Regions from separate parts of the Homo sapiens genome. Here all the other regions are linked to region 1. The links are contacts of gene promoters, found by promoter capture Hi-C in blood cells and fetal thymus (Javierre and others, 2016). All regions are on one chromosome and are shown on one strand. Each heading gives the region's core, a stretch centred on a gene start or on the middle of the fragment in contact. The rest is flanking DNA. Distances are from core to core; before and after follow the strand shown. Region 1 holds the start of CYP19A1 (cytochrome P450 family 19 subfamily A member 1). Region 2 overlaps MIR4713HG (MIR4713 host gene). Region 3 overlaps MIR4713HG (MIR4713 host gene). Region 4 overlaps MIR4713HG (MIR4713 host gene). Region 5 overlaps MIR4713HG (MIR4713 host gene). Region 6 overlaps MIR4713HG (MIR4713 host gene).

The links. Contacts are between HindIII fragments. The CHiCAGO score rates a contact against its expected background, and 5 or more counts as called.
Region 2: a contact is called between a fragment that was not itself captured here and the fragment with the promoter of CYP19A1 in region 1, in 1 of 17 cell types (M1 macrophages). The highest score is 7.7, in M1 macrophages.
Region 3: a fragment that was not itself captured here is called in contact with the fragment with the promoter of CYP19A1 in region 1 in 1 of 17 cell types (M1 macrophages); the score reaches 5.5 in M1 macrophages.
Region 4: a contact is called between a fragment that was not itself captured here and the fragment with the promoter of CYP19A1 in region 1, in 1 of 17 cell types (M1 macrophages). The highest score is 6.6, in M1 macrophages.
Region 5: a fragment that was not itself captured here is called in contact with the fragment with the promoter of CYP19A1 in region 1 in 6 of 17 cell types (M1 macrophages, M0 macrophages, megakaryocytes and 3 more); the score reaches 6.8 in M1 macrophages.
Region 6: a fragment that was not itself captured here is called in contact with the fragment with the promoter of CYP19A1 in region 1 in 1 of 17 cell types (M1 macrophages); the score reaches 6.1 in M1 macrophages.

The regions. Positions count from the first base shown.
Region 1 is chr15:51,336,419-51,340,147 of GRCh38, reverse strand. CYP19A1 (cytochrome P450 family 19 subfamily A member 1) reads left to right here and starts at 1,552. Exons shown (of 10, transcript NM_000103.4): 1 at 1,552-1,653. RefSeq lists cis regulatory regions at 1,246-1,275, 1,340-1,357, an enhancer at 1,309-1,388 and promoters at 1,309-1,627, 1,050-1,627. The HindIII fragment of the contact is 2,086 bases long and covers 633-2,718 here.
Region 2 is chr15:51,096,618-51,100,346 of GRCh38, reverse strand. The region is part of intron 1 of MIR4713HG (MIR4713 host gene); the gene reads right to left. It also overlaps a transcript of TNFAIP8L3 not described here. Among named protein-coding and RNA genes, the nearest start is that of TNFAIP8L3, 3.6 kb to the right of the region's middle. The HindIII fragment of the contact is 154 bases long and covers 1,750-1,903 here.
Region 3 is chr15:51,112,764-51,116,492 of GRCh38, reverse strand. The region is part of intron 1 of MIR4713HG (MIR4713 host gene); the gene reads right to left. Among named protein-coding and RNA genes, the nearest start is that of TNFAIP8L3, 20 kb to the right of the region's middle. The HindIII fragment of the contact is 639 bases long and covers 1,420-2,058 here.
Region 4 is chr15:51,131,933-51,135,661 of GRCh38, reverse strand. The region is part of intron 1 of MIR4713HG (MIR4713 host gene); the gene reads right to left. Among named protein-coding and RNA genes, the nearest start is that of TNFAIP8L3, 39 kb to the right of the region's middle. The HindIII fragment of the contact is 4,498 bases long and covers 1-3,729 here.
Region 5 is chr15:51,165,738-51,169,466 of GRCh38, reverse strand. All of the region lies in intron 1 of MIR4713HG (MIR4713 host gene), which reads right to left. Among named protein-coding and RNA genes, the nearest start is that of TNFAIP8L3, 73 kb to the right of the region's middle. The HindIII fragment of the contact is 2,730 bases long and covers 253-2,982 here.
Region 6 is chr15:51,202,518-51,206,246 of GRCh38, reverse strand. The region is part of intron 1 of MIR4713HG (MIR4713 host gene); the gene reads right to left. Among named protein-coding and RNA genes, the nearest start is that of MIR4713, 38 kb to the left of the region's middle. The HindIII fragment of the contact is 2,651 bases long and covers 447-3,097 here.

The DNA.
Region 1 (3,729 bases), core at 303-2,802:
CTTCATGAATGGTTTAGCACCATCCCCTCAGTGCTGTTCTCATGATAGTGAGTTATCATGAGATCTGGTTGTTTAAAAGTGTGTAGCATCTCTCCTGGCCCCTCTTCCTCCTGCTCCCACCATGTGAGATGTTCCTGCTCCTGCTTTGCCTTCCTCCATGAGTAAAAGCTCCCTGAGGCCTCCCCAGATGCAGGTGCTGCCATGCTTCCTGTTCAGCCTGTGGAACCATGAGCCAATTAAACTTCTTTTCTTGTAAGTTACCCAGTCTCGGGCTTTTCTTTATAGCAAGGCAAGAATGGACTAATACACATACCAATTCTTGCAGGTAGGATTTTTTGGCACAGGAGAGAAAGCTGAGTAGTATCAGACTTCTTGCCCCCTACTCTCCAGGGTGAGCCAGGGTAGAGCCTCTGAGAATGCACAAGGAAACTGAAGTGACATCTCAATCAGAAATTCTGAGTCAAAGTTTAGATTCCTGAGTTTTAATAGGAACATTGACCAACTTCAGTATTCTTAGAAGAGCATACAGGATAAGAAGAAATTAGGAAAGCATGAAGGTCCAAGTGTTTCATAAAGTACCCCCACTGTGGGGATATGATGACTGGGAGGGGATGGCAGTGATGTAAAAAGCTTTGTCCATTTCCTCCCAACTCAAACGTTCTGTGACCTACTTGAAGAACTGTCATGTATCCTTATCTCTTTTCATCCAGGTATCAGGTTTAGGGCCAATGGGGAGGAGCCACTGAGAGGGAGGGTTGACACTCAGCATCATTCAGATCTTCATTTAATTCAGTAAACACTTAACTGAGCACTTCCTGTGCCTGGTATGATAATGGGCATTGGAGATACGGAAGTAAAAAAGACAGGCAGATTACCCTGTGAGCAGCTGGAACACCGTGGAGCCTTCTGGGCTTCTCTTTATCCTAACATTCATTGCAGTTACTGTTGACTGATCATCTCTCAGCAATACCCACCATTAACCATGGAATAGAAGCCTCCTGAGGCTAGGGGCCATGTCACCCCCAACACATAGCACAGTTCCTGATTTGGAATTCACTATTACCCGTTGAATAAATGAGTGAATGAACGAATGAATAAATGAAAAGCTGTATAGTGAAGGCACTTCTATGTAGAACAATGTGGTGTGTGGTGGGGGGTGTGATCTTATGATTACATGTATATAGATTTTTGTCCATGGTTCTTGTCCATAACTCCCATGACACTTGCTGAGGTCTTTTGCTATAATGTAGAGGTGCTTTAGGCCTCAGGAAACAGAATATTTCTCTGGCCTTCTTTGCCCTCCTTTCATCCACCCAAGGCGGGACTCTATAATCTGATTGTGGGTCATAAGACCCTCATTCCAGAGGAGGTCATGCCCCATACCCTGGAGGAAGGAATGCTGCACAAAGAGAGGAAGAAGAATCTGGACAGACAGACCTTGCTGAGATTAGATCATACCCTTTTTGTCCAATCACATTTTGTTCAATCACATGCTTCAGTCATGGACAACAAATGAAATCTCCATAAAAGGCCCAAAGGACAGGGTTCAGGGAGTTTCTGGAGGGCTGAACACGTGGAGGCAAACAGGAAGGTGAAGAAGAACTTATCCTATCAGGACGGAAGGTCCTGTGCTCGGGATCTTCCAGACGTCGCGTATGTATCTCTTAATCTGACTGAGCCCTCAACCTGTGGGATCAGACACTCTTTCCAGGTAGATAGTGTTGGAACTGAGTTGGAGGACACCCAGCTGGTGCCCGCTGCTTGGTGTGTGGGGGAAAATCCCCTACATTTGGTCGCAGAAGTCTTCTGTGTTGATGACTGTTGTCGTGGTGTGAGAGCAGAGGGAAAACACTGCTTGAGTGTTTTTCTGAAATAGGAGGGCCTAAGAACTATACTGTTCTATGCCACAGAACTGGCCCCCTACTTTCCTTGAAAGGCTGGCTATCCAATGGTGAGGAGAGGAAGTGGTAGCCTGAACCAGCCTCCCCATTTCCCCACCTCCCACCCCAGTTCAGAGCCCAGATCCAGTAGACAGAGCAGAGATGAGGCCTGCTTGGAGCCAGGCAGGCTCTATTAGACAACTTCAGGCCAAGAAGCTGCCCCTCTTGGGATGCAGGACTCAAAAGGCTTGTAGCATGGCCACCCCGTGGGCTGGGTTGGTGGAAAGCCTGGGATATTGCTCTGGGGCAAGAGGGGCAGAAGGAAGCGCAAATGAAAAGCCAGACTCCTTTCCTACCAGACTCCACTGTCAGATCCCTCTCCAACTCTTCCTGTGTGGGATGATGGCATTTTTCACAGAAGAAGGGGGACATGTTGATATGGCCTACAAGGTAGACATCTTCACTCATCTCTCACCCTAAAGTGGCTGTGCCCAAGCAGCTGCCATGCTCTGCCCTCTTTCCTCTTCTCCTCTATCTTCTCTCTCCAACCCTCTTTCCACCGCAGTGCCACACAGTGACCTATCTCCATCACTGGCCTATTTCAGTGTTGCCCACTTTAAGGCCTAACTCCGAGTACCCTTCCTCATCTAGCCTTGACTTCCTAGGCCAGTCCCAAGCACTGTGAGCTCTACAAGCTGCAGGGGCTCTGTGGTTATGCACCTGGGCTTTGGAATCAGACCTGACCTTGAAACTGTTTTTTAACTGCATGACTTTAGATATGCTACTCAAGTTCTTTAAAGAGACTGTAATTGTATCTATTTCATAGGGTTGTGAAGCTTTAATAAGAAAATACTTGTAAAGCACTTGTATAATAAATGTTCAACACGGGTTGGTATTGTTGGATATGGGCCATATGAACTGGCTGAGACTTACACTGTGTGTGCCTTGTGCTGTTAGTTGACACTTTAGTTCTTCTGTGCCTTGTGCTGTTAATCGACATCTTAGTTCTTCCACATCCTATTTCTTCAGTTGGGTTACAATATTCTTAAGGCAGGGACCTATCTTAACTGTCCTCTCACAGCAGGGACTTGTGCCAAGTAGGAATATTTGATTAATGGATTCATTAGCTAATCACACTTTGTAGATGCTTTTTGAGGAACAGAACTTTTGAATGCACGATAAACTTGGGTTCTCGTCTGAATACCATGGCTTTGAGGTTGGTTATATGGAGCCTTTCAGTGTGAATCCCTAAGCCTCTTGAGATTTCTTGAGAGGCAGATATGCCTGCATAGCCTGCCCTGCCTGATACTTCACAGAATGGGCTGCTACTTTTTACTTATTATTAAAAAAAAAAAAAAGCTATCAATCTGGCCTGTTTTGTTGACACAGGAGGCTCAGGATATAATGCGGACACAGGGAGATATCTCAATTCCCTTTTTTTGGAGACCAAAGCAGCCAAGAACATTGTGTGCTATCTTTACAATGAGAAGTAGTTTTTCCATTAAAAGGCAGATGCTTCATTTCCAAAAGTTAAATAGAATGGTCCTTAAAAATGATTCCAGCTGGTTAACTTTAGGGCTCTGGAGAATAAAATCAAATTCAAGAATATACCCCAACTTTAGTTCCACAGCATTTCTTCCTGATTGTGAAGTAAATAATTTTCCTGGCCTGGCACTTGGGTATTCTTGTCTTCAGTGATGAGATTGACAGCTACACTGTGACTTTTGATGGTTTTACTGCCCCACCACCCTTCCACCACACTGGTGATTAGGGAGAGAGCCACCCTAAAAGTTGTCACCACATGCATCTTCCACTCAGCCTCTTATGGTTTTAACTCCCCATTCCTACT
Region 2 (3,729 bases), core at 577-3,076, 240 kb after region 1:
TCCACTGGATACCTCCTTCCTAGGTAACTCAAAGCCATGAATCAAAGCTCACTGGGTAGGATTGTTCAACCTACTCCAGATCCACCTAGCAGCAAGGAAACTGTGTAAGACCTCCTCAAAACTTAAATCACAACATATGGTATCTGTGACAGTCACTTCCCTTCATTTTGCACCTGAAACACAGAGGATACTCAACAAATACTTGATACATCCCAAGTCAAATAAAATTATCTTGATTTATATACTTCATGACTCTGTTTAAAGAAAGTTAACATGGTTATTTTAGCAGGACATGGTAAGGAACCCATGTTGGCTGCTGGTGATCACCATTCTCTTCTTTAACCATTTATAAACCTGTTTGTTTCAGATTTTTGCTAGACAGCAACAAAAAACTCATCAATTGGTTATTTCCGGAATCAACTCCTTTCTTCCCTTTGAGAACTGGGGTAACATTGCCCCACCCAGTCTTTGGGTACTTTCCTATCATCCTGAAAACCACAAAGACTCTAGTTGCCGCTGAAACCTCATGGGTCTTGATTCCGTCTTCTCTCCTGTGGGAATAATACTGACCTTTTCTATGCCACAAAGCTGTGTAAGGATCCAGGAATATGGGAAGGCACTGGGCAGAGCTCAACAGTCACTTAGGGTACCCACATACAAGCTGTGTAGATGCTTGTAAGAACAGCTCTCATGCAGCAGTGGAGTCACATCCCATAGCCAAAATGAATGCCACAAGTGAGATCACACACCATGTGTGATCAGGGAGGCTCTCAGTGAACCTAAGATCCTGGTGCTGCTATTTAAAGGGCTTATAAATAACCCCATAGGGTTGGGCTAGGGCACAACAGAGGTTGGGCCCATAGAGTTTTCTTCTCTCTCTCTCTTTCTCTTCTCCCTTTCTCCTTCTCAATTTCCCTCTCCCTTTGTATCAGTGCTTTTGAGTCACTATAATTGCATTAACCACCAAGAAAGCTATCCTGCTGGCAGCTCAGGAAGCAGAAGCTAAGAACCCAGGAGAACAGCTGGATGCCAAAGTTGCCAGCCTCATCCACCCTCTGCCTCCTACAAGGGGTCTGGACTTGGATGGGGCTGTGCAGAGGACACACTGCCCACAAAGAAAGTGTGGAAGGAAACTTTGCATTCTTCTCCTAAACCTCCTCTGGGCTCAACTGATGCTGGACAAATGCAAGAATGAACTCAAATAACCCACCTGCTGCCTAGTGGAGATTATACCCATGAAAATTCTTGATAACCTTAAAGTCTTGGGATATATACAGCAATTATTTTGTTAGTTGCAATTTTCTTTCTTGTTTCTCTCTCCCAAGGAAAACGAAGGAGGCTGAAAGTTCACAGGCATTGATTAATGATGTGTGCAAAGATTTAGACACGAGGATATTGATTGATGCTATTATAGCAGAAAATTGGAAACAACCTAACTGCTCAACAATAGAGGATTGTTTAAATACATATGGTATACTCATCCAGTAGAATATTGTACAGCTATTAAAAATCATGTTATCAAAGAGTAGATGAAATGATGTTCACAACATATTGTTAAAAGGAAAAAGCAATTTACAAAAGCAGAATACTGTACACACACAGAAGGAAACTTCTCAAAAGATATGTTAACCGTGACTGCAATTAGTAAAATTACGAATTAATTTATATTCTTTTTTGTTTATATGTATTTTCCAATTTTTCTAGTAATCTGCATTACTTTTTAAATAAGAGGGGAGACAAATAAAAGCTTATTTTTACTGGCAAGAAAGAAATAGGAAAGCTCCCTTTCTCAAGGCTGTCTTCTAGCACCATGTTCTGTTAGATGGATATCAAGCTAGCTTGGACCCTGCTCTCCAGCTTACCTACAGTCCCATGGAGGCCCCCTCAGCTCTGGGTAGAAGCTTCCTTGGGACCAAAGTCTACCTTGAGACAAATGATTAAAAATAGGGCCAACCTTTCACCTCTAAGGACCAAAGGCCACTTCAGCCTACAGAAAACAGCGGTTCTAGAGCTGGTGGGTTTTCAAAGCAGAGCAGCAGTCCTAGCGTGTGAAAAGTATCTCCTTCCCTCCTCCCACTGCTGAAGGTTTGCAGACAGCTCCCTTTCCATCCCACAAGAGGAGACAGGCAGATGAGTCATAGCACTGGCTCAGATTAAAGGAGTATTATTGTGTTAGCAGAAATGGATCTATTTTATTATCTGTTTCTTGACACCTTACAAATAGATACGCTTTACCCACCAGACAGGCAATTTCCTTAAAAAGCCAACAATTTTGTTCACTCTAGTTAAGAAATGACCAATGAGTGGTAGAAACTCGTATATCTGAAGAGCTGCCAGGCTGAAAAGATGTAGTGGAAACACTGAGGAAGGTGGCTTATAACCCTCAGACTCTAGATTCAAGTCTGCAAAGTGATGCCATTTTTCTAAAAATATACAGAGGAACTACAGAAACCCTTTCCCTTTTTCTCTTTCTTAAGAGTTTTTCCCCCCCCACAAGAAATATATCAGAACTGGTTTGTAAAAGGAGATTCACCACCTCAGATTTCACTGTTTTAGTGGGGTTGATGGTCATAGGATACTATTTTAAGGACTTCCTTCTCTTACACAGATTTTTCCATACTGGGAGGAGAGATAAGGTATGTTCCACTAATGTTCCTCATTAAACTCACACGCATGCCAGTAGTCATTTCCCTTTGTCTTGCTGTCCCATGACAACAGATTGTACATCATAGGAAATTGGAATCGAGACCTTGTTTAGTTTGGATCTCTCTTCCCCATTGTCTAATTCCACATTCAATTCAATTTTTCATTCTATGTCTGCCTCGTTTAGCAGAAATATACTATGAATGAATATAGGAGCAGGTAAATGAATAGGCATTATCTAAGAACTTCACTCAAAGACTTTTCAGGATACCTTGACCAGTTCTTTCTCTCCCCCCCATGCCCAAAGCATTTATCTCTGGGTCAAAATGTGCTAGATACTTAATGAAGACCTGACGACTGATGAGCATACATGTGTTGTAAATGTGTGTTCTCAGTACATTGTTTACTGTTGATCAAATTCCAGTAGCTTCTCTGTTTCCTTTTTGCTGTTATTCATACATGTCTCTGTGGTCTGTCTCCCTCACACTGCAACCCAGGCTACCTGTCCATTAAAACAAAAGCAAAACCAAAAAAGCTTCCATGAAGTGCAAGGAAAGGAGGTCTAAGGAAACAGGGAAAGTTTCACATTTCCTGTTATTGAATCTAGGCACAACCTTTAGAGGAAGCTGAATGCCTTTTGAATCCCATATGCTCTGTTCTGTGAAGCTATCATTGTTGTTTTACCTTATAACTGAAAAGCTATTATGGCAAACTTTTTAAATGATCCCAGCTATTTGTTTTTCGAGTATCATCTTGTATCCAAATTTTGCCATTACTTTTTTCTTTCTTTCTTTTTTTTTTTTTTTTTTTTTGAGACAGCGTGTTGCTCTTGTTGCCCAGGCTGGAGTGCAATGGCACGATCTCGGCTCACTGCAACTTCCGCCTCCTGGGTTCAAGCGATTCTCCTGCCTCAGCCTCCCGAGTAGCAGTGATTACAGGCATGCACCACCACACCTGGCTAATTTTGTGTTTTTAGTCGAGACAGAGTTTCTCCATGTTGGTCAGGCTGGTCTCAAACTCCCGACCTCAGGTGATCCACCCGCCTCAGTTTCCCAAAGTGCTGGGATTACAGGCGTGAGCCACCGT
Region 3 (3,729 bases), core at 490-2,989, 220 kb after region 1:
GAAGTCAATACCCACAGAAGTTTAACTTTTTTTTTTTTGAGATGGTGTCTCACTCTGTTGCCCAGGCTGGAGGGAGCGGTGGCGCGATCTCGGTTTACCGCAACCTCCACCTCCCAGGTTCAAGCGATTGTCCTATCTCAACCTCCCGAGTAGCTGGGATTACAGGTGCACGCCACCATGTCCAGCTAATTTTTGTATTCTTAGTAGAGACAGGGTCTCACAATGTTGGGCAAATTAGTCTTGAACTCCTGACCTCAAATTATCCACCCGCCTCGACCTCCCAAAGTGCTGAGATTACAGGTGTGAGCCACTGCATTTGGCCCAGAAGTTTAACTTTTTAATAAACACTGGGTTAAACAAAGCCCAACAGGTTTCTTTACTGCAGAACTTATCAGAGTCCTTCATATGCTAATGGCACTTTGAATTTCCAAGAAAGAGTTCATTAGCGTATTATTTCTCAAATTTATTTGACTTCAGAATTCTTTCAATTTGCACAGAACATTCATGCTTTAGGAAAGATCCTAAAGGAGACAGGGCCACAAGATGGAAAGAGCCTGGACTCCTGACTCACTTTTTGGGACTGAGCCTCCCAGAGAGCAGCCCTATGAGAAACACCTGTGATGGACTAGTGGGTGGGTGAAAAATAAACTTTTATTGTGTTCAGCCGCTTAAACATCAGGGTTGTTTGTTATAGCAGTTAGCCTATGCTGTCCAATATGGAATGCATGCAGGTATTTAAGTTATTTGTCAAAGAATAGATTATCTTTTTTGGCCTACAGAGTTTTTGTCACAAACAATAATAGGTCACAAGACTTGTAGCCTTACTAAGGTGGTATGATAAGTCTTTGCAAACAGTATCTCATTTAATTCTCTTGACCACCCAGTAGGATAAGTACAATTATCGGCCCATCTCACAGATGAAGAAGCTAAAGCTCACAAAGATTGAGAATTTGAGATAGTAAGCCCAGGATATGCATGCAGGTCATTTGACTTTGGGTCCTTGATCTTAATCACATCAAGGTCCTACCTCCTAGGCCCAAGTTATGAGGTCAGAAAAGCTGGGTTCCAGGTGCGATTTGGTTAGTTACCTAGACTAACTGAACATCTACACAACTTACTTCCATTCTTTTTATTTAGATCAGTGGCTCCCAATCAGGGTTGATTTTGCTTCCCCAGGAGACATTTGGCAATATATGGAGACATTTTGGGTTGTCACAAGTGGGGAGGTACTACTGGTATCTAGTTGGTAGAGGCCAAACATGCTGCCACAGCATCATACAATGCAAAGGGCAGCTCCCAACAACAAAGAACCACCTGCCCCAAAATGCCATAGTGCCAATGTGGAGAAATTTTATATGTTTTATTGACAGAGCCCAAATGTCCAGAATAAATCCACACTCTTGCTTGGAATAAGAAGCTTACTTTAAAACCCTGCCTTAGGCTTTAATTCCTAAAAGGGCAAGAAAGGCCATAACCAACAAGTAGCTTTTGGCGCTCAGAGATGTGAGCCTTGGCCATTTTTGGAGGGAATCCAGCCCAAAGAAGACTTTGCCGCATATAAAGAATTCGGTTTGGCAGGACCTCAGGAACAATACATGGTGACAGAATAGAAATTCCTCTTGAAAGAATGCCAAACCTTTTTGGTTTCCTAGTAACATAATTTTCCTGAGATTTCTCTCACATTTAAATTTGCAGCATCCCTACACCTATTTTAAATCAAGGCAACAAAAGAAGATTTTTATGAAAAGATGACATAATTGAATCATCTTCTTGGAGAGAGAAGGAAACCTAAGGGCCATCTGGTCTTTTCCCTTGCCCACCTCTTCTGGCACATGGCACCCCTGTTTCAACATCATATGATGCAGGGCAGGGATGTCACCATCACAAGGATCCAGTTTCATTTCCAGAACGGTCTGTTCAAAACTTCTTTCAGGGCCAGAAACCTGCTTCTCTGACCTCTGTGTTTCCTGCCCCTCATTCAATGCACTCAGGGAGGGTAGTGGGAGAAGGAATGAGGAGATGGGTACGGGGGTGGGGAAGTGTTCTTCCATGAAAGCTTACTGGGTCCCAGGCTTTGTGCACCTCATTTCTAATCCTCCAGCATCTCTCATAGCAACCTCAGGTAGTGATCATGCACAGCCTCCCTGCCCCTGCATGTTGTCTCTTTTCCAGATGAAACATCGTGAGATCTGTTTTCACATGGAAACATCCCTTTGGCACCCTGTTCATTCATTCATTCACTCATTTATTCAGCACATAATTACTGGGCACCTATGATCTGCCAGGCTTGTGTCAGAGACTTGGGATAGAACTTTGGGCAAAATGGCTTGTCTGGAAAGCAGGGCTGGCAATACAGTCAGCGAGGGAAGCCCTCGACTTAGGGACTATTATTATTATTAACTTCAGCAAAAATTTTCCATGCCAGCACCCTATGCGGTAGCCTAGGGCATCAGGAATATATCCCAGAGGGAGTGATGTCTAGCTGGGCGGGTAAGCAGAGATCCAAAGGGTTTCACCAGGTAGCAGGGCATGTAGAGTGTTACAGGCAGAGGTAACAGTTTGTGCAAACACCACAGGGGCACCCATGGCACTGAAAACAGGTTGGCGTGGCTGATCTGAGGGAGGCTGGACTGATGCTGGAGAGGTGGGCCCAGACTGGTGGGCCCTGCAGGTCGTGTAATGGATTTGGGTTTTTAGCTGAAGGGCCACAAGGACCACTGAAGCTGAGAAACAGCAGGATTGGATTCAACTTGCAGAAAGCCAGTCCTGGGGGCTGTGTGGAGAATGGGTCAGAAGAAGCAGGAAGGCAGGGACTCTGTGTGGGAGGCTGTGTAGTTGCCCTGCCTCCCTCAGGGGTATGGTGGTGGCAGGGACTGAGAGAAGGAACAGTGATGGCAGAGAGGTTAGGGGTCTTTAACCACTTCCCATAATCTCGATCAAAGCACCTCCGAAAGTCACCTCAATAAACAGAAAGTTAAATTCAAAGCAGTGTTTAGCTATGCTCCTACGGCTAGGAAATGAGCCCCCAGCCCTGTAACCCTCCCAGCAGCAGATATTCTTTGAGCACTCCCATGTTGAAATTCGGTATCCAGCTTGAAGAAATAGAGGTATTTAGGGTAGATATGACTTGGTATTTGGACATGAGACACAGAGAGAGAGAGAAGGAAAGAAGGATGACCGGTCCCAGGCTTAGGCAGTGAGTGGATGTTGGCGAGGGAGTGTGTTTCTTGGCGGGGAAGAGGGATTCACTCGGGCCAGGTGAAGTTAGGTAGTCCAAGTGCAGAGAGAGAAATGTGGAGCCCCAAGAGAATCTGGGTGTGAGAAGTCAAAGGACAAAAGGATGAGCCTGGCAACAGAATGAACTCTCTTGAGATATCCCTGAAATCTTCAGGGATCTCCACAAAACTCACAAAACACTCACCACAATGTGTGCCCATGGTAACTGTAGTGTGCCTGAGCTCTGCATCAGGGGGATGTATAAGAAAATGGGGGCCGGGCGCAGTGGCTCACGCCTGTAATCCCAGCACTTTGGGAGGCCGAGGCGGGTGGATCACAAGATCAGGATTTCGAGACCAGCCTGGCCAACATGGTGAAATCCCATCTCTACTAAAGTTACAAAATATTAGCCAGGTGTGGTGGTGCATGCCTGTAATCCCAGGAGACTGAGGTGGGAGAATCTCTTGAACATGGGAGAATCTCTTGAACCGAGGAGGCGAAGGTTGCAGTGAG
Region 4 (3,729 bases), core at 544-3,043, 200 kb after region 1:
GGTGCTTCCAGATTGTTCCTTGTGTGGGCAGAGGGTGTTCCCATGGCCAGAAAGAAGCTCCAGGGCAGAGTCGCAGGTATTTGCAGTAGGCAGCCCTCAGGCATGTACAGTGAGCGTGGGGTGTGGGCAAGATGCCCACACTGTGGTCACCTTGCTGCATGTGCTCCCAGCTCAGTGTGCAGCCTTGGATTGGTGATCCAGCATCCCAAGATATGTGATGAGAAAAGCAAAAGCCTGGGTGGAATGCAGTCACAAGGTCTCTGGTACCTGGACAGTGTTTCACTTCCTGTGAATTAACTAATTCACATCATAGTTTAGCTTGTGAGTTTAATGATTAGATGAGGTTATCCAGAGCCCAATGAATAATGACTATTTATTAGCTGCTTAGCTATTTGAGGCTTTCAACCCATGTTGTGGTAAATCATCAGAACGCCTGAAAGGAAGATTTTGTTATTTCTAATTTAGAGATAGAAAAATTGAGAGTTAGAAATTAAATGAACTGGCCAAGCTCCCATAGCTACTAAGAAGAATACTCAGAATTCAAGTGTATGTGAAACAGGGATTTTTGTGAGATTCATACACTGCACTCTAACACCTCCTTGACTCCTGAGTACTCTGATGAATCAAACCTCTGAATGTGTGAAAATGGGGTGAGACTCTGGGCCCACAGTGACCCCAATCAGGTTGCAGATATCCTGTGAGGGACAGCCAGCAGTCAGCCCCAATTGCTCACACCTGTTTTCTGCTCACTCTCATCATACTAAAAACAAAATTCCCACCAGGTCCTCAGTAACTCCCCCAAACTCACCTGGGTCCTCAGTCTCAACAAGACCCTCTTCTCTGTGTTAAAGAAAATCATATTCTAACACTTGCTAAAACAATAAGGAAGACTTTATTCAGGACTATTGCAATGGAGTATTGCAATAGGTGTGAGAGATCAGGTTCAACTTCAAATTCAAGGACAAGTGGGATTGTCAGCCAAGAACAGAGTGAGAGGGTTAGTGGATATGGAAAGTTGCTAAGAGAAGACATCAAGGATAGGAGATTCTTGTGAAATCAACTTAACAGGATTCTTGCTAAACACAAACTAATGTGATCAGATATCAAGCATGGGGGATTCTCCCTAAACTGACTTGGCAGGATTCTTACTAAAACTTGACTGGGCAAGGACAGACACAGACAAAGAAGTCCAAGGTCAAGGCCCAGTTGAGAAGAGGCTCATAGGAGCCTCACTAAAGTCTGGTCAAAGGGAGAGTTTTTGTCACTTGCCACAAAGGTCCAGATAACAGTTATGAAGCCAGACACTGGGACTTGGTGTTCTGAGTCCTCAAAATACTCTGGAAGGCAAGGACCAGGATCATCATCTTTACCTCACCAATGAGGAACCAACAAGTTAAGTACCTTGCCCAAAGTCAGACTTCCAGCCAATAACAGAGCTGGGATTTGAACCCAGAAAGTCTGGCGTCAAACCCATAGTTTTACCCACCACATGACACAGCTTCTCATCTTGTTGATTCCTTAGTGGATTTCATGCTTAATTAATCTTCCCACCACAAATTTGGGGATGAAGCGACCCAAAGAGATGGGGCTATCATAATCCTGCTTTACAACAGACCATCTTTCACATCCTCACTAGTTACTTTGGGGCCTCTAAAGATAAGCCATTGTAATGGACGCTTCATAATGTGATTTGACCAACAAAAACATTGGTACACAAAAGAGGAAACCGGAGCAGATTTCTGCATTCATTTCTATTTTTATTGTGTTCTGCTTTTGTTTAATAATAAGGGGGAGGAGACTGGGCTCGATCACTCATCTGCAGCAAGAATTTTTTATTACCAGGGGCTGGAAAACAAAATGGGTTTTAATTTATTCCAATTTCATTTCAATTTTGCCAGTGGACATCTGTGCTTGCGAGCTTGGAAACCATAATACACGACTAATACTTTCCAATAATTTTCTTTTGATAATTCCTCTGACAGTGTGAAGAAAAGTGCCTGAACATGGATTAAATATCACATGACAACATTTTCCCAAATCTACGTGGCAAACTGCTACTTTTCTTTTTCTACAAAGATAATAGGAGGAAAAAAGCAATTTTTCAGAGCAGAAAGCAGCAGACAAGGTTCAGAGAACTAGAGTTCTTCTCCTGGCTCTGCTACCCACTATCCAGATGTGTGGCCTGGGGCGGGGGAATTCACCTCTCTGGGTTTCTGTTTCCACATTGGGAAATGAGATGCTTAGACTGTGTGATTCCCAAAGTCCCTCCCAGCTCTGAAATTTCCAGAGTCTCTGGTACAACATGGTGCCAAATGACCTTCATAGTGTCGGCATCATAGCTTTGGACGTACTTTGAGTTAACCTGGTTCACTGACTAACATAGAGAAGGAAATCTACAATTAATTGGGCACATATGCGAGCTCTTAAAAAAAAAGCAACAGTTTACATCAGGAATCTCAAATGGCAGGTGGCATAAGTGAGGGCATCAGGCTGAGCAAGGAAACATTAGGGAGCAGTGGGAACACTGCTGAACTGAGAGCTCACAGTGTCTCTGAAGGTGGCAGCTGCTCCTTTGCGCCATCCAGTGGCTTCCATGTGGCAATGCAGGCCCAGTGCAACCAGAAACTGATTTTTCAAGCAAAAATAGAAACCTAGATTTTTATGTTCTGTTTCCCAATTATTTAAACACTGTTGGGGCCAAAGAAAACATACTTAGGAGCCCTAGTTAGCAAATCTTGAGTCACATGCACTGGGTGTCTAACCCATTCTCTTTTCTCCGGGACCATCCTGTACTTCCTCTGTCCGGCAGAGCATTCATTTCTGTTTACTCATCTGTCTCCCTGCTGGACGCAGAGCATTTTGAGGGTCATGGGTTCTATGCCTGTCTTGAGCAGCAGATTGTTGGTAGTCAATGAAATAAAGGAATTTTACTATTTACAATGAACGCGTCACTGTATTAGTCTGCTCAGGCTGCCATAAAAAAATGGCATGGCTTAAACAACAGAAATTTACTTCTCACAGTTCTGGAGGCTGGAAAGTCCCAGATCAAGGTCCAACAGGGCTTAGTTTCTGGTGAGGGCTCTCTTCCTGGTTTACAGAGGGCTTCCTTCTCACTACATCTTCACATGGCCTTTCCTTGGTGTGTGCACACAGAGAGAGAGAGCTCTCTGTTGTCTCTTCTTACAAGGACAGTAATCCTATTGGATCAGGGTCCAACCCTTATGACCTCATTTAACATTAATTACCTCCTCAGAGACTCCATCTCCAAATGCAACTACACTGTGACCCAGGGCTTCAATATATGAATTTGAGGAAGACATAAACATTCAGTTGATAACACTCACCTAATGCCAACTCACAAGAATTTACCAAAAGCATGGGGGAGGAAAAGGACAAGAAGCTGGGTCTAGAGGTCAAGAGAGATGGGAGACTAGGGCCTCTCAAGCCCAGGCTTGCCCCAGCCCCTCTCCTCAAGAGACAGCCCCCACTTCTCACCTTGATGATGCTTCTTGCTCCTCCAATTGCCCACTGAGCTGAGCAACGGCTTTCACCAGGACTATGACCCTGATATTTCCAACAAGCTGATAAACACACAAAGCTGACCGGGCCACCCCTAGCATCCACAGGCATCATCTCCCTTCCTTGCAACAGGCCCAGGCAGGTGAAGTAACGGGTCCAAGGTCACATGGGTAGTGAGTGGCAGAGCCCAGATTCAACTCCTGCCCCACC
Region 5 (3,729 bases), core at 368-2,867, 170 kb after region 1:
TGAAAATTCATCTTTCTACTTGTATAATTTTCATAAAAACTCTGGAAGTGTTAGCATGTAAACAATGCCAGATATTCATTTTCTTTATAAATATCTATAATTGAAATCAGCTTTACAAAACAGAACAAACCCAAGTAAATTATATGCACGTGATTAATTACAAAATTTTTGTCTTATTAACAAAAACTTATGTAAATCTGAATTAAGAATGTAAAGAACATTCTTGAACTTTTTGATCCATTTCTTCAAGCTTCATTCTAAAAATCTTAAGAACCATAGCACTACCCCCACTCCCTGAAGCAAATCCAACTGAAGAGAGAGAACAGAGTAGAACCAAACCCACGCCTTGGAGATGCCCATGCTTAAAAAACTTCACTTGGACCAATGCTCAAAGTCACTGGTCATCAAAGAAATAAAAATTAAATCTACTAGAATGGCTAAAAATAAAAGGACTGAAAACACCAAATGTTGGTAAGGATGTGAAACAACCAGAATGTTCATCCATTGCTGGTGGGAGTGTAAAATGGTAAAACAATTTTGGAAAGATTTGTTTCTTCTACAGTTAAACATGGACCTACCCAATGACTCAGCACTTAAATTCTAAGTTTTTACCCAAGAGAAATGAGAATGTATATCCACAAAAAGACTTGTACAGGAATATTTATAGCAGCTTTATTTATAACAGTCAAACTGGAGACAACTCAAATCCAGGGAAAAGGATAAACAAACTGTGGTACATTTATAATATGGAATACTACTTAGCAACAAACGGGAAAAATCTGCTTCTATGTAATAGATGAGTCTCATAGACATTATGCTGAGCAAAAGAAGCCAATTATGAAAAAGTGCATATTATATGAGTCTATTTATATGAAGTTCTACACAAGACAAAACTATCTATAGTGAAACAAAACCAGAAAAGTGGTTGGCTCTGGGGGGGATAGACTGAGAAAGAAACTTTCTGGATGGTAGAAATGTTTTATGCCTTAACAGGAGTGAGCATATGTTCCTTAGAAGTTCTAGTGTTCTATGCCACTGTAGGATGACTCTAACAATAACATATTATTAGTTTCAAAGAGCTAGAAGGAGGATATTGAATAGTCCCAACACAAAGAAATGTAAATGTTTGAGATGATGGATACACTGATACCCTGATTTGGTCACTATACATTACATGTATCAAAACATTCCTATGTACCCTAGAAATAAATGAAATTATTATTTGTCAACTTAAAAATTTTTTAACATACCAGATTATATATTTAAGATTTGTGTATTTTACTATATATAAATTTTGTACTCTACTAGTAGGCTTGCTTTTCTCAGCAGTGTGGGTTAGCAATTCTGAAATTAATTTCTGTGTATCTTATGCTTGAGCAAATGAATAAATACATTGAGGAAAATAGGAGCCATGTTTCTTACTGTCAGAAAAAAGAGTTACAAATATGTAAAAAGGGGAAAATTAGAGTGTTCTCTGAGTTTATGGATTGGAATTAGAGGTACCAGTATGAACTTGTGTTTTTTGATACATAGATGAATAGATAAATATATTTCCTAGCTCTGTCCACCAAAAGTGTCTGGGAGCAATAACACACCTGCAGCAGTGAGTACATCTAGCACTTAGATCTTGGTTTCTAAATACCATTCTCCACTAAAACGAACGAAGAGTCCTTGAAGAAAAGTCTTGGATTCCAGGACTGGGGTGTGGAAACACAAGATGAGTTTAGGATATCTTATTTCACAAGAACCTAAGAAGATGCTCAGTGAGAAATGGGGAACATTCAATAGGACCCAGGATTAGCTTGAAGGAACTTCCATGGGCCACTGAAGGGACTCTTCTACATCTGGGACAATTTGAGCATCAATTATAATAATGTATTCTATTTCACTGAATAAAATAGGAATCCCTGAGAGCACACTGATAGAAAAATGCCAACTAGGCGGGGTGCCATGGCTCACACCTGTAATCCCAGCAGTTTGGGAGGCTGAGGCACACGGATCCCTTGAGGTCAGGAGTTCAAGACCACCCTGGCCAACATGGTGAAACCCTGTCCCCATTAAAAATACAAAAAAATTAGCCATGCGTGGTGGCGCATGTCTGTAATCCCAGCTAACCGGGTAGCTGAGGCAGGAGAGTCGCTTGAATCTGGGAGGCAGAGGTTACAGTGAGCTGAGATTGCACCACTGCACTCCAGCCTGGGCGACAGTGAGAATGAGACTCTGTCTAAAAAAAAAAAAAAAAACAAAAAAAGCCAACTAATAAATATAGAAGGGATGATAGAATTAGAAAATCATCAGTGGTTGCCAAAACTAGTTTGATAAGGGTGAAAGGTTGATGAGAAACAGAATATTTACAGTCTCAATGCATCTCCCCTCAAATTACTTATTACTTACAAAAGAGAAAATGGTAACATGGTGGAGAAATTTGGCAGACACTCCCTGTTCCATTTGCTTTGTCTACATAACAAATTACCCCCAAACTCAGCACCGTTAAACAGCCATTTATTATGCTTGTGGATTCTAGAGATCAGGAATTTGTATAGAGAACATCAAGGATGGCTTGTCTCCGCTCCATGATGTCAGGGGCCTTAGTTGAAAAACTCAAAGGCTAAACGCTGGAATCATCTGAAGACTCCTTTACCCACATGACAGCACTGGGTGTTGTGTGTGGCCGAGAACCCCAGTCCTTCCCCAGGTGGCTGGTTTGGGCTTCCTGACAGGATGGTGGCTACCTGGATTCACCACTGTGCAGTTAGTATTTTTCACTTTGTAATTGATAAATAGCTTGTAGGGAGATGGTTTGAGATTAGATGAATATCCTATCTCTTGATCATGCTTTTGGCCACTACTTTCAGCATTGCTGCAAACTCTTTTTTAAAAGGCCAATTTATTTCATAGACATGTACATTTTTTTCAAAAAGTCCAAACTCTAAACAGTGTAATTCTTGAAAGCACAGAATCCTTTAGTTTGGCTCACAAGCTTGATCTTTGAAAAAGCCCTCTGTTTTTCCAACTTGCTGGTCTTTGCTAATCAGATAGGGGTTTAAAAAAAGATATTTCATTATACTTTTAAGGGTCTATTATTATAGACTGAGCTCGAGCATCTTTTCATGTTTGAATCATTTGTATTTCATTTTCTGATAACTGTTCTTATCATTTGTCTATTTCATACTTACTTACAGAAGTTTTTAAAATATATTAAAGAAAGTAATTATAGAATAGAGAAATATATTCAGGAAAATAGCCCTTTATCAGTTACACAAGTTGCAAGCATCCTTGTCAATTTTGTGTTTGCCTTTTATCTTTTCATTTTGATTTAGTGTTACTTTTAACACAAAATTTTTTGTTGTTTCTGTTTTGTCGAATTTACTAATTTGTGTGTGGGCGTGGTTTCTTAGAAGAGCCTTCCCCATTCTGATATTATTAGTTAAATCTCCCATTTTTATATACTACTTGTATGATTTCCTTTTCATGTTTATATATTTAATCTACCTAAAATTTATTTTGGTGTAAGACCTGAGATCCAGCTTTTTTTTAATAAGATGATCCACTTGTCTCAATATCATTAAATGAATAGTCCGCATTTTCCCTAAGGGTGTAGTTTATATCGTATACTAAATTCCCATATGTATTTGGTTTGACTTTCTAGTCTGTATTATTGATTTAATCATGCATTTGTACCACATTGTTCTAATTACTATAGATTTATAATATGTTTCAATATCTGGT
Region 6 (3,729 bases), core at 523-3,022, 130 kb after region 1:
CATGTCATTTACTTCTCTCAACAATACTGTGAGGTGGTTATTATTCCCCCCAATCCATCCATTTTTATTCCTTTGCTACCTGCTTGGTAGAGTTTCCCTTCCCTATCCACATATACCCTAACACATATGGCCAGTGTCTCAGGTTCTATGATCAAAAACTACTCCCAAAACATTTTTTAAAAACTCCTTGAGAGGCTGAGGTGGGAGGATTGGTTGAGCTCAGAAGTTCGAGATCAAAGTGAGCTGTGATAGTACCACTGCACTCCAGCCTGGGTGACAAAGCGAGACCCTATCTCAAAAAATAAAAATAAAAATAAATAAATAAATAAATAAATAAATAAATTGCTAAATGTGTCTACCTAAGTTATAAAGCATAGCTAAGTTTCAAAATGTCATCCTCCCTTACAGTAGAAGCTTTTGGTTTTCTAGGGAATTGCACAAAAGCTTGATAGGCATCTGCAAGCTGGGCTTGTGGGAGGAGAGGAGGAGGGAAAGGAGATGGTACTTTCCAGATAGCCCTAAAATGATACTACCTACTTCACCCACACATGAAGCTGGTCCACTATAATGTGGTGTTTAGGTTGCAAGGGTTCCCAAATCAGAATGCCTATAGGAGCCAGGCAGGCAACATAAATTGGACAATCAGACCAGCTATAAGTAGAGCCTGTGGGAGACAAGGAACATGCCTCACCTAAAGGCATTCAGGTTCCGTGTTCCTGAATGCCAGTCCCAGCCAAACCAAACACAGTGCCAGCCAAACCAAACTCATCTGTGAGCTGGATTGGGCCCATGGTTTAAGGTCTTTAACATCATTCCTGTTCATATCCAACATTTTGCTTGCACCCTGTCTTCACCTAGTGAGAAAGGCAGAGAAGTCCCATTTCACTGAAGTGAAAACTAAAGCCCAGAGAGCCCAGGTGGTTTGTCCAAAGCCACTCACTAAGCGACAGATCCAGGACTCCTCTGGGGATCCCAGCTCCAAGTCCAGGGCTGTTTGATTTCACCTGGCTGACTTCCCTTCATAGCTGTGCACATTCTCATGATGATTTCAATGCCCTTTCACCAATTTGAATATCACTAGCTATCTCTGTAAATATGGATTACACCAGAGGAGCTCTACAGTCATTTCCAATGCCTTCATTATGTTAAGTTACTATTTTGCTTCATAAACATAATAGCATCTTTTCCACTTTGTATCTAAGCCCTAATAGCAAATTGAGTGTATACGGCACTCTCAGGTCAAGCATGCAATTTGGCCATTGAAAGGATGATTTGGGCATCCAGTGTGCACCAACTGGCTGACTGCAAGCCCCCAAACACTAGTATGCCTGCATGTATCCCTAACTTGCTGCTGCAGGGGGATGGAGATGTTGATGGAACACATTTCATTCACAAATAATTACTTTATTCCTATTGCAACTTTTGAGCAAGCCAACGGGTTTGCTGAAGCAAATAATTTTTTTCTAAGTGGCATTGGTTTTATACTCAAACCAACTGAAGCACTAAGAGCTCAATAATACCTCCCTTCCCTGCTGAAATGACCACTTTCTCTGGGCACCAATGCCTCTGGCATGCTTACACCTTCTCATAATGCAGCAGCTGCTTTTACTACTCATGTGGCTCCAAAAACAACCAAAAAACAGGCAAGGAGAAATGAACTCTTGCTTCAGAGAAATACCTGCCCATGATGATGCAGGAATGGTTGACACATCTTTGCGTGTGATCCTGGGGCAAGTGTGAAGGGGAAAGAATTATTATAAATCAGTCAGACCATAGACCATGTTATCTTATTTAAACCTCACAACAATTATGCAAAGTATGGATTATTTCCCATTTTGCAGCTGATAAAACTGATTCCCAGAGTAACTTGCCTACACTCACTCAGCTAGGAATTTTAACTTCTTGGCTTATTCCAAAGTCTATGATAATCTTTCCTGTATGCTACACTAAAAGTGTGCTTTGGTCCTTTTGGAAATCAAATATAGTATAACAATAAATGTGTGTAGGGTTTAATTGGTCAACAATTTAGGTATTAATATTGGAGGAATTGAGGTATTGAGGAAACTAGGGAATTCTGGCTCCTATCATAACTCACACCAGCCACTCCACCATGGGAATAAGTCCAAGAACAGTGACTTGAGACTTTGCCCTGTCTTTCCAACCAACAGCTAGGGGTGAGTCAAACCAATTCTATTGATTCAGCTATATTAAGCAACCAAAGTAAAATGATCCATATGTGTTCTCTAGTCATCCACGTTTTACTCATCTCCATGTCTGGCACACAGCATGCTCTCAGTACATTTCTGTTGAATGAGAGAGTGAATCTTTAAACCAGTAAGAGAAGTTAGTACTATTAAATTCCTAAGAATAGGCACCACATGTACACATTCTAAAATGCGGCCTTTGCAGTCTACTAAGTGCCACTGAAAGACAGTGAATGATCAATCTACACGCTTAAGCAAGAAAAACATGGCCAGGTGGGGGAAGCCAGATATATCTTGGTCAGGGGTACTAGCAGTTGGGGGTAGATATTCCTGCTCATTGCGAAATTGGAGGAGATGAACTTTAGGACTCCTGCAACTGAAGATTCCACAAGTCCATGGGTTTGTGCCCTTCTCTACAACCAACTGGTGAGGATTTACACATTTTCTAAGTTAAGCCAAAAAGCTGGCTTTCGGGAACACATAGTCTCAAAGGAGACATCTTTCAGAAGAATCTCTCTTAGCTTAATAATCAGCTGATACTCATAAGGATCACAAATATATGGTATTTTGTGTTTAATAATCACATTTGATGCCCATTGGTTGCCAGGATAAGTAACACTATGCCTATTTACAAGACTAACTCATTTCCAAATGAATCAAAAAAGCACATTTCATCCTATTTTAATGCAATTGTTCCTGGTTCTCCTTCTTGAGTCTCATTCTAACCTCTCTCAACAGCCTGTATTTCTACTTCTCGCAGGTCTTTTGCGGCTCCTTGCATAATGAATCCTCTTAGTAGTTCTTTCCTTCTGCAGTTCCCCTCAGCCTGTCTCAGGACCAGCTCTGAGGACTGTGCTCTGGGGAAACCCCAGCCTGTCTCCCAGCCCCAAGCTTGCCATCTTGCCCCTGTTGTTGAATGCCACCCCAGCAAACCTGGGGTGTGTTTGCTTTTTGTCCTTCTCTTTCTTCTACCTCTGCGGATCCATCTTGCATATTTCCCTCATTCCCTCCTGAGCCTCCTGTTATCCACTTCCCCTTTCTCTTACCATCTGCACTCACCATCCTGAATTGCTCAGGCTGAGGTCACCCTTTTATTCTGAGCTGGTGAAGCGGAGGCAGCCACCCTCCTTTTATCACGACAAAGTCTTGTGTGGATGAGATATAGTCCTTCCTCCTTATATTTGTTTCCTAAAACTGCTGCAACAAATTACCACAAACTGGGTGGCTTCAAACAGCAGAAATGTATTCTCTTATAATTCTGAAAGCCAGAAGCCTGAAATCAAGGTGTCGGCATGGCCACGCTCCCTTGGAGAGGAATTTGGTGGGAGAATCCTTCCTTGCCTCTTTGAGCTTCTGGTGGCTGTAGGCCATCTTTGGCTTCCTTGGCTTGTGGCTGCATCACTCTAATCTCTGCCTCTGTGGTCACATTGCCTCCTCCTCTTCTGTCTGTATCTTTCCCTCTTCTGTCTCAAATTTCCCTCCACCTTCTCTTCTAAGGACACAGCATTTGATATAGGGCTCACCC